Linked DNA regions of Homo sapiens: region 1 is linked to region 2. The links are contacts of gene promoters, found by promoter capture Hi-C in human tissues and cell types (Jung and others, 2019). All regions are on one chromosome and are shown on one strand. Each heading gives the region's core, a stretch centred on a gene start or on the middle of the fragment in contact. The rest is flanking DNA. Distances are from core to core; before and after follow the strand shown.

Evidence for each region. The method cuts DNA at HindIII sites, captures the fragments that hold promoters and counts their contacts. A contact is called where the count stands out against the background at its distance.
Region 1: a contact is called between the fragment with the promoter of BRMS1L here and the fragment with the promoter of NKX2-1 in region 2, in 1 of the 25 tissues and cell types used here (neural progenitor cells).

Annotation. Positions count from the first base shown.
Region 1 is chr14:35,824,267-35,830,943 of GRCh38, forward strand. It overlaps BRMS1L (BRMS1 like transcriptional repressor), which reads left to right and starts at 2,072. Exons shown (of 10, transcript NM_032352.4): 1 at 2,072-2,392. The coding sequence starts at 2,251. RefSeq lists silencers at 2,113-2,212, 2,463-2,632. The HindIII fragment of the contact is 14,376 bases long and covers 1-6,677 here.
Region 2 is chr14:36,518,711-36,525,708 of GRCh38, forward strand. It overlaps NKX2-1 (NK2 homeobox 1), which reads right to left and starts at 1,522. Exons shown (of 3, transcript NM_001079668.3): 1 at 1,343-1,522; 2 at 275-660. The coding sequence starts at 1,419. SFTA3 (surfactant associated 3) reads right to left here and starts at 846. Exons shown (of 5, transcript NR_161365.1): 1 at 758-846. NKX2-1-AS1 (NKX2-1 antisense RNA 1) reads left to right here and starts at 568. Exons shown (of 2, transcript NR_103710.1): 1 at 568-969; 2 at 2,934-4,306. It overlaps LOC105370453 (a long non-coding RNA gene), which reads left to right and starts at 5,979. Exons shown (of 3, transcript XR_001750715.2): 1 at 5,979-6,498. RefSeq lists enhancers at 938-1,937, 1,938-2,937, 2,938-3,937, 6,156-6,998. The HindIII fragment of the contact is 7,239 bases long and covers 1-3,812 here.

The DNA of each region.
Region 1 (6,677 bases), core at 822-3,321, 690 kb before region 2:
GGGGGTAAGGTCACAGATCAACAGGATCCCAAGGCAGAAGAAGTTTTCTTAGTACAGAACAAAATGACAAGTCTCCCATGTCTACTTCTTTCTACACAGACACGGCAACCATCCGATTTCTCAATCTTTTCCCCACCTTTCCCGCCTTTCTATTCCACAAAGCCGCCATTGTCATCCTGGCCCGTTCTCAATGAGCTGTTGGGCACACCTCCCAGACGGGGTGGTGGCCGGGCAGAGGGGCTCCTCACTTCCCAGTAGGGGCGGCCGGGCAGAGGCGCCCCTCACCTCCCGGGCGGGGCGGCTGGCCGGGCAGGGGGCTGACCCCCAACCTCCCTCCCAGAAGGGGCGGCTGGCCGGGCGGGGCGCTGACCCCCCCACCTCCCTCCCGGAAGGGGCGGCTGGCCGGGCGGGGCGCTGACCCCCCCACCTCCCTCCCGTCCGGGAGGCTGGCCTGGCGGGGGCTGACCCCCACCTCCCTCCCGGACGGGGTGGCTGCCGGGCGGAGACGCTCTTCACTTCCCAGACGGGGTGGCTGCCGGACGGAGGGGCTCCTCACTTCTCAGACGGGGCGGCTGCCGGGCGGAGGGGCTCCTCACTTCTCAGACGGGGCGGTTGCCGGGCAGAGGGTCTCCTCACTTCTCAGACGGGGTGGCCGGGCAGAGACGCTCCTCACCTCCCAGACGGGGTCGCGGCTGGGCAGAGGCGCTCCTCACATCCCAGACGGGGCGGCGGGGCAGAGGTGCTCCCCACATCCCAGACGATGGGCTGCCAGGCAGAGACGCTCCTCACTTCCTAGATGGGATGGCGGCCGGGCAGAGACGCTCCTCACTTTCCAGACTGGGCAGCCAGGTAGAGGGGCTCCTCACATCCCAGACGATGGGCGGCCAGGCAGAGACGCTCCTCACTTCCCAGACGGGGTGGCGGCCGGGCAGAGGCTGCAATCTCGGCTCTTTGGGAGGCCAAGGCAGGCGGCTGGGAGGTGGTTGTAGCGAGCCGAGATCACGCCACTGCACTCCAGCCTGGGCACCATTGAGCACTGAGTGAACGAGACTCCGTCTGCAATCCCGGCACCTCGGGAGGTCGGGGCTGGCGGATCATTCGCGGTTAGGAGCTGGAGACCAGCCCGGCCAACACAGCGAAACCGTCTCCACCAAAAAAATACGAAAACCAGTCAGGCGTGGCGGCACGCGCCTGCAATCGCAGGCACTCGGCAGGCTGAGGCAGGAGAATCAGGCAGGGAGGTTGCAGTGAGCCGAGATGGCAGCAGTACAGTCCAGCTTCGGCTCGGCATCAGTGGGAGACCGTGGAAAGAGAGGGAGAGGGAGACCGTGGAGAGGGCGAGGGCGAGGGCGAGGGCGAGGGAGAGGGAGAGGGAGCTATGTACCCTTTTTTTGAGAAAGTACATCTGGTTAAGTATGTATTTTTCATTGAAAACTAAAGTTAAATCAGGACTGATGGCATTTTCCGACTGCATTTGGTAAAAAATAAATGCCAAAAATATTAGATTGAAAATGCCAAGATAAAACTTCCTTACCTTCTGTATTGTAAAAGTTTCAAGAATAATTTAAAGATTTTTGCACAACACAGAAAGTGCAAGTTATCGTCTATAGTTAATAATTAAATAAAACAGTTTATTAATGGTAGGTAATAAAGGTGCTTAGTAAAACAGATGGTTCTCCAGTTCCCCAGGCTCAATGAGCAGGCAAAGATCCTTTTAGGCAAAAGACATTTTCACATCTAACAGTAACATCTCTGATGGTCAGGCAGGTCAAACAATCACTTGGCGGGAAATAGATAAATACAGACTAAATTCGCACAATCTGTTTCTGTTTAGTTTATAAACTGCGATCCAGAGTGTCAGCTTTCGTGCCTTGTGGGACTTGAAGTCCAGAAGGAAGAAGTGATCAGGGCTGCCGAGGGATGGAAGCGTGCAGCCCCTGCAGGTCTGAGACCTACGAACTACAACTCCCGGCAAGCATCGGAAGGCCGCGTCGTAATTGCGGGCAACCAATCGTACCAGAGCAGGGCAAGCCCCCGCCCTCTGGCTCGGTGGAAGGCCTCCGCCAATGGCAGAGCTCCCATCGCAGAGCCTGCGGGTTAGGTTGTGAGGCCCGGGCCGGGGGCGGGGAGGAGCCAAGGGGGCGAGCAAGCTCGGTGGCTGGGTGGGTTGGGGCGTTCCGCGCGCCCTTCATTGAAGCGGCGGTGGCCGGGCTGGGCGCCGGTAGTGGAAAGCGACGGCGCGGCTGGAAAATGCCAGTCCATTCCCGAGGGGATAAGAAGGAGACCAACCATCACGATGAGATGGAGGTGGACTACGCCGAAAATGAGGGGAGCAGCTCCGAGGACGAGGACACTGAGAGCTCGTCGGTCTCCGAGGATGGAGATAGCTCAGGTGCGCGACCCACTGCTGGGACCCTGAGTCCCCGCGCCCAGCGCGCGACAGGCCGCTCTCCGCACGCCAGGCGGCTGCGTCCTGCTGGGAAAGCGGGGCGGGGACAGAGGGAAGGGGCGGAGACTGGCTCTGGGCCCTGGGCTGCACCCTGACCGGTCGCTGGGCGCTGTCTGGCTCCTGATGGGTCCCGGCGGCGGGGCGGGGCGGGCCTGGGCTTGTCCAGCTCCCAAACGCGGCGTGGTCCTGCCCCCGGTGGTGCTCTGGAGCGACCAGCCCAGGCGGACAACTTCCCGCAGCAGACAAACTGGAAATGCCTCCTCTCCCCAGCCCACCGACCTCTTTCCCTATTTTCACCTTTGCAACCCTCACTTCTCAGCGCAAGTGAGTTGCCGGGACAGAGGGTCGGCTTAGTAATTAACCTCAGTTTGCAAGTCAACTTGCCGGTCAGCACTTTTACATCAGTGTCTTTTCGGGGGCTAACTTGAGAGCGGTCCCGTTCAGTAGCTCCCTGAAGTTTGCAAGACTGAGAGGAAGGGACCAACATTCGGGCTCATTTTGGATCTTCATATGCTTATAAATTGGCTGAGTTTTGGCAGCGTTGAAAATTCTCCAAGTCTTTTCTTCCCTTCAGTTTTTTCTAACTTTGGGCTGTTTTAAATTATTTTGGGTGGGGGAGGAGGGCAGATTAACACTACAAATAAATTTTGCAAACTTTTAGGAATGGTTATTCTAAAGTGAAATGGAATTTGTGATTACCGGGATTATTTTCTTTCGATTCAAATGATGGAGATGAGACTGACTTCTTTGTCTTGGCCTGATTTTGGTCATGTAAAGGAAGCATTGATGATAGGTTGATGACAGCCTAGTATCACCCAGATGCCCTCTTTTCATGTTTCCCTTGCAAAGCAAATCTCCATGGAAGGATATAATTTCAATCAGTAAATCAGCCATCCAAAAATATTTATGAGTGACTTCTTTGTGCAGCACTGGACAGTACTCAATATGAGGGATAAATAGTTATTATCTGGGCTCACTTAAAAAGCTATCATAAGTCACCACTTGATTAAATTGCCAAATGAATGCTTAACTAAATGTTGCTGTAGGAATTCAGAGGCAGAGGAAATCGTTTCAATATTGGGTGGTCACAAAGCCTAGCTGAAGAAGGTGGGATTACCTTAATTATCTTGAAGAATGAGTAGAATTTGGTTTGGGGTGGTGGGTATCCCTGCAGGGAGAGGGATGTAAGAAAAAGTACAAGGGCCAGAGTTTGGGGCTTATTCAAAAGAGCGTGAAAACCTTGGGAGAAGGAGTTGAGCTCGGAAAAGAACAGGAAAGTATAGATGTGAGTGATTTCAAAGAAAGCACAAAACAGGATTGATGAATGCAAGTTTAGGATTGAAGGTAAGAGAAAAACCAAGATACAAGGAGAGTGGCGGTAGCATCAACAGAAATAGAAAAGTGAAAGATTTGAGATGAAGGTGAAAGAAAAGAGTATTTCAGACATGTTGCTTTTTTTTTTCTTTTCTCTCTTTGAGATGGAGTCTCGCTCTGTTGCCCAGGCTGGAGTGTAATGGCGTGATCTTGGCTCACTGCAACCTCCGCCTCCTGGGTTCAAGCAATTCTCCTGCCTTAGCCTCCCGAGTAGCTGTGATTATAGGCGGGTGCCACCACACCAAGCTAATTTTTTGTATTTTTAGTAGAGACAGGGTTTCTCCATGTTGTCCAGGCTGGTCTCGAACTCCTGACCTCGTGATCCACCCACTTCAACCTCCCAATGTGCTGGGATTACAGGCATGAGCTACCATTCCCAGCCTTTTTTTTTTTTTTTTTTTGAGAAGGAGTTTTGCTCTTGGCACCCAGGCTGGAGTGCAATGGCATCATCTTGGCTCACTGCAACCTCCACCTCCAGGGTACAAGCAATTCTCCTGCCTCAGCCTCCCGAGTAGCTGGGATTACAGGCATGCGCCGCCACGCTCAGATAATTTTTGTGTTTCACCATGTTGGCCAGGATGGTCTTGAACTCCTGACCTCAGGTGATCTGCCTGCCTCGGCCTCCCCAAGTGTTAGGATTATAGGTGTGAGCCACCGTGCCTGGCCGACGTGTTGCTTTTGGAGTGATGGCAGTATGCTTAAGATTGCCCAACTGACAAATGGAAATGTGACATTGGAACCTGCCCGATATGGGAAGGGGAGAATAATTTGTAAGTCATCTGCCTTGCCATGAAAGTAGGTGAGATTTCAAAAGCGGGGAATATAGAGAAAGGAGACTGTATGGGAATATATTTCTTTTTTTTTTTTCTTTTTTTTGAGACAGTCTTGCTCTGTCACCCAGGCTGGAGTGCAGTGGCACGATCTTGGCTCGCTGCAACCTCTGCCTCCTGGATTAGATTCTCCAGCCTCAGCCTCCTGAGTAGCTGGGATTACAGGCATCCTCCAACACACCCGGCTAATTTTTGTGTTTTTAGTAGAGATGGGGTTTTGCCACGTTGGCCAGGCTGGTCTTGAACTCCTGACTTCAAGTGATCCACCCGACTCTGCCTCCCAAAGTGCTGGGATTACAGGCGGGAGCCACTGCACCTGGCCTGTTGGTGAATATGTTTCTTAGATCTATAAAGTATTTTGTCTTCAGATGTTCTTGCATTTATGATAGGAGCAAGGATCTCATAAAATTCTATTTGTTAAAATTCTCCCCCTATAATTTTTATGTTGACTCTTGTGATTTTTAACTTTTAAAAATTCCATCCCAAAAAATAATGAACAACTTAATTTTTGAAGAATGTGATAATAATTTGAACTACAAGTCAAAATTTTAAGTGCAAAGAAATTGTTTAAATAAATTTTGCAGTTTGCTTCTGTTAAAGCATCTCTGTTCTACCATATGTCTTTCATGTTAAACTTTCACAGTGTTTTCTTCTCAAATGTTGGTGCTGAGCAAATTCTAAGGCTACGGAAAAGCCTCTACTATCCAGAGAACTTGGATAGTGAGTCATCTTGAGGGACCAAGTTTTGAGTAGCCAAGAAGTAAGCAATCAAAAGCCAGAAGTATTTTTAATCTGTTTTAGAAAATGAGAAAAAAATGAGTCAGCCTTCCATGTTATATAAAAATAATTGAACATGATTTAACTCTTTCTCATAGTTTGACTTTTATTTGATGAAGATCAAGATGCAGATCATTTTGTGCTTCAGTTATTTTGATGAATGAATATATGTGATATGAACATAGAAAATGTGGACTATAGGACAGACCTGGTAATTAACAGTTGCTTTCCTTAAAAAGTTTGTATTTTCCTCCTCATTTGCCTCTTTCTCACTGATAGTAATATGGGTAGACGGAATAAGGGAACGTAGGAATGGCAGACCAGGAGAGCCTGTGGTAAACATAATAAGATTAGTTTTCCTTTTTCTTTTTCTTTTTTTTTCCTTTTTTTGAGATGGAGTTTCGCTCTTGTTGCCCAGGCTAGAGTGCAATGGCACGATCTTGGCTCACCACAACCTCCACCTCCTGGGTTCAAGCGATTCTCCTGCCTCAACCTCCCAGGTAGCTGGGATTACAGGCATGTGCCACCACGCCCAGCTAATTTTGTATTTTTAGTAGAGATGGGTTTTCTCCATGTTGGTCAGGCTGGTCTCGAACTCCTGACCTCAGGTGATCCGCCTGCCTCAGCCTCCCAAAGTGCTGGGATTACAGGAGTGAGCCACCATGCCTGGCCTTTCTTTCACTTTTTATTTTTGAGACAGGATCTCTGTTGCCCAGGCTGGCGCAATCTTGGCTCACTGCAACCTCTGCCTATCAAGTTCAAACGATCCTCCCACTTCGGTCTCTCGAGCAGTTGGGACTACAGGCATCCACCACTATGTCTGGCTAATTTTTGTATTTTTATTAGAGATGGGGTTTCACCATGTTGCCCAGGCTGGTCTTGAACGCTTGAGCTCGAGCAATCCTCCAGCCTCAGCCTCCCAAAGTGCTGGGATTACAGGCATGAGCCACCACACCCGGCCACTTTTCTTTTTTTATGTGACAGGCAAATCAGCCATGTGAGCAGTTCTGAAAGAAGAATCCCAAAAATGTTTTTGAGCAATGTTAGCCTTTAAAGGACACAGTCATTTTGGTGCTACATTCTGGTGAGTTGGTGGAAAACAAACCAAATGTGGGCTAATTACTTTATAGTTATAGCTTATAGTCAGTCCTTTAAAGTGATTTAAAAATGAATAAAAGTAAGAGGGTCTAGAGACCAGTATAGTTTTATATACTCATCTGTATTTTAGATTAAATCTATAGTGGATT
Region 2 (6,998 bases), core at 272-2,771:
TGCGCCGAGCAGAGCTGCCAGTCCACCGCGCCTAGGAGACGCCGAGTACCCGCATCTGACCGCAGGACCCCAGCGCTACCAAGTGCCTGTTCTTGGACCCCCAGCCGAGCAGGGGGAAGCATCCCCAGCTCCCGCACCCAAGTCCCTGGCGCCGCTGCCGGGCCGCCCTCCCTGATGCCCAGCGCGCAGCCTGCCGGCGCCGCGCCTTCTGGACGGCTCTCGCCGCACCTCCTGAGCTCAGCCCGCGGCCCCGCAGTGGGGCGGCCTCACTTACTGGCGGGGAAGCGCGGGTCTGGGTTGGCGCCGTACCATCCGGGGCCAGAGGCGCTGTTCCTCATGGTGTCCTGGTACGGCGGCAGCTCGCTCATGTTGCCCAGGTTGCCGTTGCAGTAGCCCCCCACGGCGGAGTGCGAGAGCTGGGGCACCCCCGCCGCCGTCATGTGGTAGGCGGCGGTGACGGCGCCGTGGTGCCCCACGGCGTGCTGCTGCATGGCCGCTGTTGGCGGTGCCGCCTGGCCCTGCCTGTACGCCGCCAGCGGAGCCCCGAGGCCGCCGCCCTCCATGCCCACTTTCTTGTAGCTTTCCTCCAGGGGACTCAAGATGTCAGACACTGAGAACGGAGTCGTGTGCTTTGGACTCATCGACATGATTCGGCGGCGGCTGGAGGAGGAAGGAAGAGGAGGAAAAAAAAGGGAGAGGGGGAAGGCGAAGCCTCGCTGCTTTTTTTTTCTCCCTTTGCCAAATATTCTGGTGTTACCTTAACGCCGATCTTGTTGGATGTACACGTAACGGAGTGGACCGAGTCCTCCTTAATTGGCTTGAGTGGAGGCTCGGGGGCTGCCTCGCGTTTGTTTTAGCCCGGCGCCAGGTTTTAGGCAGCCACCAGAGGCGGGGCGTAAGCGCTAAAGCAACAAGACAATAGAAGCCTACATCTTGCCCGAGATAATTAGCTTACATGCTGATGACAAGGTAAACACCTTTAAGTTTCACTTGTCAGGATTTTTAGGTCTCAAAGAGAGAGAGAGAGAGGCAGAGACGAGACCCAAAGCATTTCCCCCCTCCCTTGGACACCCCCACCCCCATTTTTTGTGGGGTACCAGCGGAGCGCGGGGAGGAGGTGGAGGGGAGGGGAAGGAGGAGGGAACCGAGAGCGGGGAGGGCAGGAGGTGGGGTGGGGGAGTAACAGAGGAGGAGAGATGGTTGAGAGGAAGGAAGGTGAATGCTGCTTTGCAACCAACTTGCGGAGTTACAAAGTGGAACCACTTTCCAATTCGGTCGGGGTTCCCCGGGCACGGACAGGTCTTTAGGAGGAGGGGGCTGAGGGACAGGGTGGGGGTTTCACCTGAGCCTGCCGGGGCTGCTCCTCCCTCCCGCCGCGGCCTCCCAGCCCCGCGCCTTCCCACTGCCTCCGGACCACATCGGGCTTCGCTGCGCTGAGCCCCAGTCGCCAACAAATGAGCGAGCGAGTCTGGGGACGAACCCTGGGGCCGCACTGTTGGTCTACGTGTCTGTCAGTCTGTCTGCCTCTCTTCTGCCGCCGTCAGAGGGACACCTCTGCTCCCCGCCCCCTTTCCCCCTACCGGAGAGAATCCGAGCGGGCGGAGGGGGCGCTGAGTAGGGGATCGACTGCCTCCCGGAGGCTGTCCCGGATCCCCGAGCCACAACCCGCCCCCGCAGCTCAGGGGTTTTTCAGTGGGCCACCCCCGCTAACACGCCTCCCCCAAGGTCTTCCCCCCCCCCCCCCACCCCCGGCCGAGCAAACACAGCACTGGCCCCCAGAGCTGGGAGGATGGGAAGGGGTCTCACGGGAGGGTCCGTCACTGAAGTTGCCCCACCTCGAACAAACCTGGTGTCCCTGACCCTCGCCCATCTCCCAGACACGCGGGGATCTGGGGCTGGAGCTGACTTTCCGAGGACATCACAGCCCCAGCACCCGAGCCCAGAGCCACGCTGTTTTCCCCTCTGATGCTTCAGGGAGCGCGCGAGCAGGGAGCGGCGTGAGTGCCCGTCTGTCTGTTGCCGGGCGGAACTGAGCCTGAACCCCGGCGGCTGGAGCGCTGGCCAGGAGGGGGCGAATGCCGAGGTGCGGGCAGCTCAGCGGGCGGGAGGCTGGGCCGAGGCTCGCCTCCGCCCGCAGCTCAGCCATGCAAAAGTGCTCTTGCTTCCCGGGAATAACCAAATATCTTTGTTTAAAGTGGTGGCGTAAATGGCCAGTCGCTTTGTGGCCACGCTGGATATTAGTAGATGAGGATCATTCTGCTTCAATTGGGCGCCTCTCATCCGACGAGCAAGAAACTGCTTAGGAGGAAGAGGGTTTCCTGTCTGCGCGTTCCCAGGCTTCAAGTGTGGGCCCCGCGCCTTGAGGGTCCTTGGGCGCCTGGCGAGGGGGAGCTGTGGGCTGCGCTCCCCAGCGGAATCGGGGGTGTCCCCCGCGTTGCTCCGGCCAGGCCGGGGCCTGCAGCCGAGTCGACTACCGAGTGGAGCACTGAACGGCGCGGATTTTGAGACCGACTCCGGTTTTTGTCCTTGGATTTTAAACGTTTTTATCATTGTTTTTGTTTTGCTTTCTCCTTAGCTGTTTTAGTCTCCTCTGCGCGCCAGGGGCTGGGAGGGCGGAGCGCTCCCCGGCCGGCCCCGGCAGGTGCCTCCAAGACACCCGCGCTGGTCAAGGAGCTTCTTGAATTTAGTTTTTGTTTTCACATTTTCTTTCCCCTCCTTGTAGAGAAGGAGCTCCTGATCATGACGAACAGGCAGTTTTGAGCTACTTAATTCATCCGGGCTCCCTTTTTTTATTAATAGCAATTACAGTAGAGAAAGTTTTATTTATTTTTAAAGATTTCAGCCCTCTCCTTGAAGAGAGCTCTTACTCCCTCAATACAAAGCCAACTTCTATAATAACATTCGCTTTTCTCACCGCCTACCTTCTTTACCAGGGTAAAGAAAGCTCAGGACACCCTCCGCCCTCCCACCTGCGCCCGCGTTTTTGTGCGGTCCCCACGGCAGAGCTGGGGAGGCCACCCTACGTTTGCGCAGGGAGACGCGCTCGCCGCTGGTGTTGCGAAAGACCAGAGCGAAGCCCGGCTCCTTGCCCTTCCTTCCCAGGGGCTTCTCTGGGGGGCGCTCTCAGGCCCCGACGAACTGAGCATTGATCACTGTGGTGGCTAAGCAAGGAGGGGAGGCGACGCCGGGCTTAAGCGAACCACAGAGGAGAACTGGCAACGCTGAATACAGACCTTGTCTGCAGGCGCGACCTGGCCGGGCCTGAGTCCCGAATGGGGTCTAATTGCGAAGGCGGGGTGGGTTTCCCAGTCACCCAGCTTCTTTCTCTCACTCGCCATTATTTCATAGTTGTTTGTAAGTTTAAGGAACACCAAGTGTAGAATGTTGTACATCTCTTCCAGTCTCAACGCCATTTAGAAATGGAGATCAATCTTCACAAGGTTTTTGTGAGATTCAAGTAAGATGAAGCACATCAAAATGCTTTGAAAGCTTTGAATGTTTTTCAGCTCAGTGCCAGCACTGGAGATTGCGGTAGTTATTATCATGACTATCCCCACCCCCTCTTAGGTCCCAAGACCTGAGTAAAAGGAAGAGTTGGGTGAATCTTCCACAGCCCCTAGGTCCTGTCTTCTCGGCCTTCGTCCCTTGGCAGCTTTTCAACCTCTCAGCAGGCCACAGGCGCACGTGGCTGGCAGCTCCCCGGCCTCCGGCTCTGACAGTCCGGGGGCAACCAGGCCTGCAGTTCTCGAGGAAACCCCCAGCCCCCCACGTCTCGTTCTGGACCAGGAACCCCCTCCCCAACAACCGCGCAGCAAGTGGCGACTCTGGGAGCTGAACTGGAGTGGAGCTCGAAGTGGCTGGGGCGGGCAAAGACTCCCGCTTCACTCTGGGACACAACTGGGACGGCGCTTCAACCTCTGCCTGCAGGCGTGCTTCTCGCGCGCACCAGCAAGCTCTCTATCCACCTCGCCTGGGCCTTTGCAGCGCCCTGCCGCCCAGGCTCCAGCGCCTCTACTACCCTAGCCCCTTCTCAACACGCGGCTCTGCCTTCTTCCCCAGTACCACTGCACTGCCGAAAATAAGCCCGGAGACTAACGCACCTTGTAGGGAAGAGAAGGACATCTGTATCTCCAAGCTTATCCAAGCAAAGGCCTCCAGAGTCCCTCCCATGGCCCGAAACACCTCCCTCTGACCGAAGAGCGTCCTTTCTTTCCGCCGCCTCCTGGACTCATCCTAAATAGGGCAGACCCGGGCTAAACCAGTGATTTTTTTTTCCATGAATACGAAGAACCCCGATTGCACTTTGCGAAGTCTGCGCGTATTCCTTTATCCCGCAACTAGCTTGCTCCCGGGTGGAGTGGGCACAGTGGGGAGCGGTCAGGGCAGGGCAGGGCCCAACGCTGGCCCCTCGCGGAGCTTTCCCTGGCGCGACCTCACACGGTCGCTGCCTCTATTCCGACCACGCTCTGCTTCGCTGGCTGCGGCTCCGCCAGGAATCCGAGGGGGCGCAGGCCCAGGCTCGGCCCTAGATGCGCGGAATCGCCATCAGCCTTTGCTTACACCAGCGTGGCCGCAGGGAAACTCCTTTCTCTCCCTCCAGTGTCACTTTGCGAGACAAGAACAGAGGGCTCATACAAAAGAAGGCTAATTTGGGGTCTGTAGCTTGGACCAGGTGGAACTGTGAGGAGGAACCACCTGTCTCACCGCCCCACCCCCCAACTGCTTTTTCTAACTCCCTTTGTGGTCCTCCACACCTGTTTAGGGCGCTGAGCCACTCTGTCTCCTGGTAGTGTTATTTTGCTCCAAGTTTTATCGCAATTTTTGATTCACTCGACAGTATTTATTCAGCTAGGGCTCTGTGCCAGGGACTACGCAAGGCCTGAAAATTCAAACTTAATCTAGATGCAGCTCCTACTCACACGGAACTTACACATTCACAATAAATCACCCAAATAATATGTAGTTACTTTCTGACAGATGTTACTCTAGGATCCAGTGAGATAGAGAGGGTTGTAATGGAGATTCGTGTGTGGGTTTTTGCACCATTTCTTGATCTCTCAGCATTCCAAGGTCGTGAGAGGAGTCCTTGAGTGGAAGTCCGTCCTAGGTTTGAACCCTGGCTTTGCCTTTTTCCAGCTGTGCAGTACCGCTCTTGTGGGCTCCCGCCACACCCTGGAGTCACTCCCATCACAGCCAGAGTAAACCAGTGTGTGTTTTCTGGCTTCCCTCCTTGAGGGTGAGCCCCTGTTTTATCTATCTTTGAACCCCCCAGTGCCTCGAGAAACGCTGAGGAAACACAGCCTCCGAGCACCTGTTTCCTGAGCTGTAAAAAATGGTCACAACCTGCCCTGTGTACTGGCTTGGTTTGTGCTAGGGATCCAAACAATTCAGGATGAGATCATGTGCCTGAGTTTGTAGATCACAAAAGTCGCTAATAGAAGGAGTTATTCCTTCTGATTCTGTATTTTGGATTTAGAGAAACTGTGACTCTAGGCCTCTGACCTTCAACAAGAAACACTTGGGCCCCTCAGTTGCTCCCGCAGTCTCCCACAGCTAGGCACAGGCTTCTAAGCCGGGCTGAGCTGGGCTCGCGAGTGCCATCGAGGCAACCAGGCGCAGGGAGCGGAAGGCAGGAGTGTAACTGGGCGCTGGGGGGCGCTGCTCCGCAACCCCAAGATCCGAGGAATGCCTCCGGGGGATGATTTCTCTGGAGGGGTCTCGCAGGGCCCCCTCTGCGCTGCTTTCTCAGGCACCAGAACCGAAATCCTCGGGAGGGACCGCGGGAGCCCGGGGCGTGCAGACAGGCGGCTTTCACAGACGCAGCGGGAGGAAGGATCCCTCTACTGCTCCCTTTCCCGATTTGACCGTCTAGGGCCTTTGAGAGGACTTTCCTTTTGGGAAAGCTTTTCTCAATTCGTGGCCTGTGGGCAGGCTGGGGGGTGGGGCGCCAAGTCATCCGAGCGCGGCTTCTGCTTCTCCCTTTCCCTCACAGGCATGCTCTACGGAGGGTATGGGAGGCGAGGGCGCGTCTATGAGGGCCAGAGTCCGCGAAGAGAGTCCGGCCCTTAGGCCTTTGGTGTTGAAGAATCTGCTCCTCTGTCGGGTCAAGCCCCACTAGAAGTTAACACCTGTGGTCTCCAAACTTGCCTATTTTCCTGTCACGCAGTTCAAGCCAAGATTCAACTCGTCTTGAATTTTTGTATTTAGAGCCCCTACCTTCTCCACCGACTCCAGGGGCGCCCTCTGGCGGGAAGGGGCCTGGGGTAGGAGGGAACCTGAGGGAGCGGGTTACAAAGCAGAGAACAGCGGGAGCTCAGCAGCTCCCTTTGAATTGCGAGGAAACCAAGACGGAGACGGGAGGTAGGAGCACGGGCCTGAAGCGGTCAGCCGACCCTGTGAGGCCCGCGCTGCCGTGCTACGCCGCGAATCCGCCAGACGCCCCCGTCGGAAGGGGCAGGGACACCCTCGGGGGCGCTCTAGGGTTCGTGCTGCGCTAAGGTAAGTTTCGCAGCTGCTCCTGATAATTAAAGGACAGATTCCCGAAGCATCCTTGTGGCGGCGCGGCTGTTTTCGCCCCAGGACCTGTGCAGCCTCATTCAGCTTTAGGTAGTCGAAACCTATAGCTCTTTCTGCCCTCTGTTCCCCAACAAATCTCAGTCCCAACAGTGGGAGCCCGTGGGCCTTGGGTGTTCGAGTTTCCCGCGGGCTTGCCAGCAGCGCTGGGGTTCCCTCCTCCGCTCCTTTCCTCCTCTCCAACCTCCCACCACAGCCCGTCTCCCCCACATCCCCAACACTTGTCCCAGGCAGTTTCCGGTGGCCGCAGTATCGACCCCAGGCCATTGGGGTGGGTGTGAGGGAAGGGTGGAGGGGGAATCTCCGAGGCCCAATGTTTTCTGGGACTTGAGGGAGGCTGAATTCTCCCTCGCTGCCTAGGACTTGGGGTCTGAAGGTTGCAGACCGAGGCGATCCGCAGCGCCCTCTTCCGGCGGCCGTCTGGA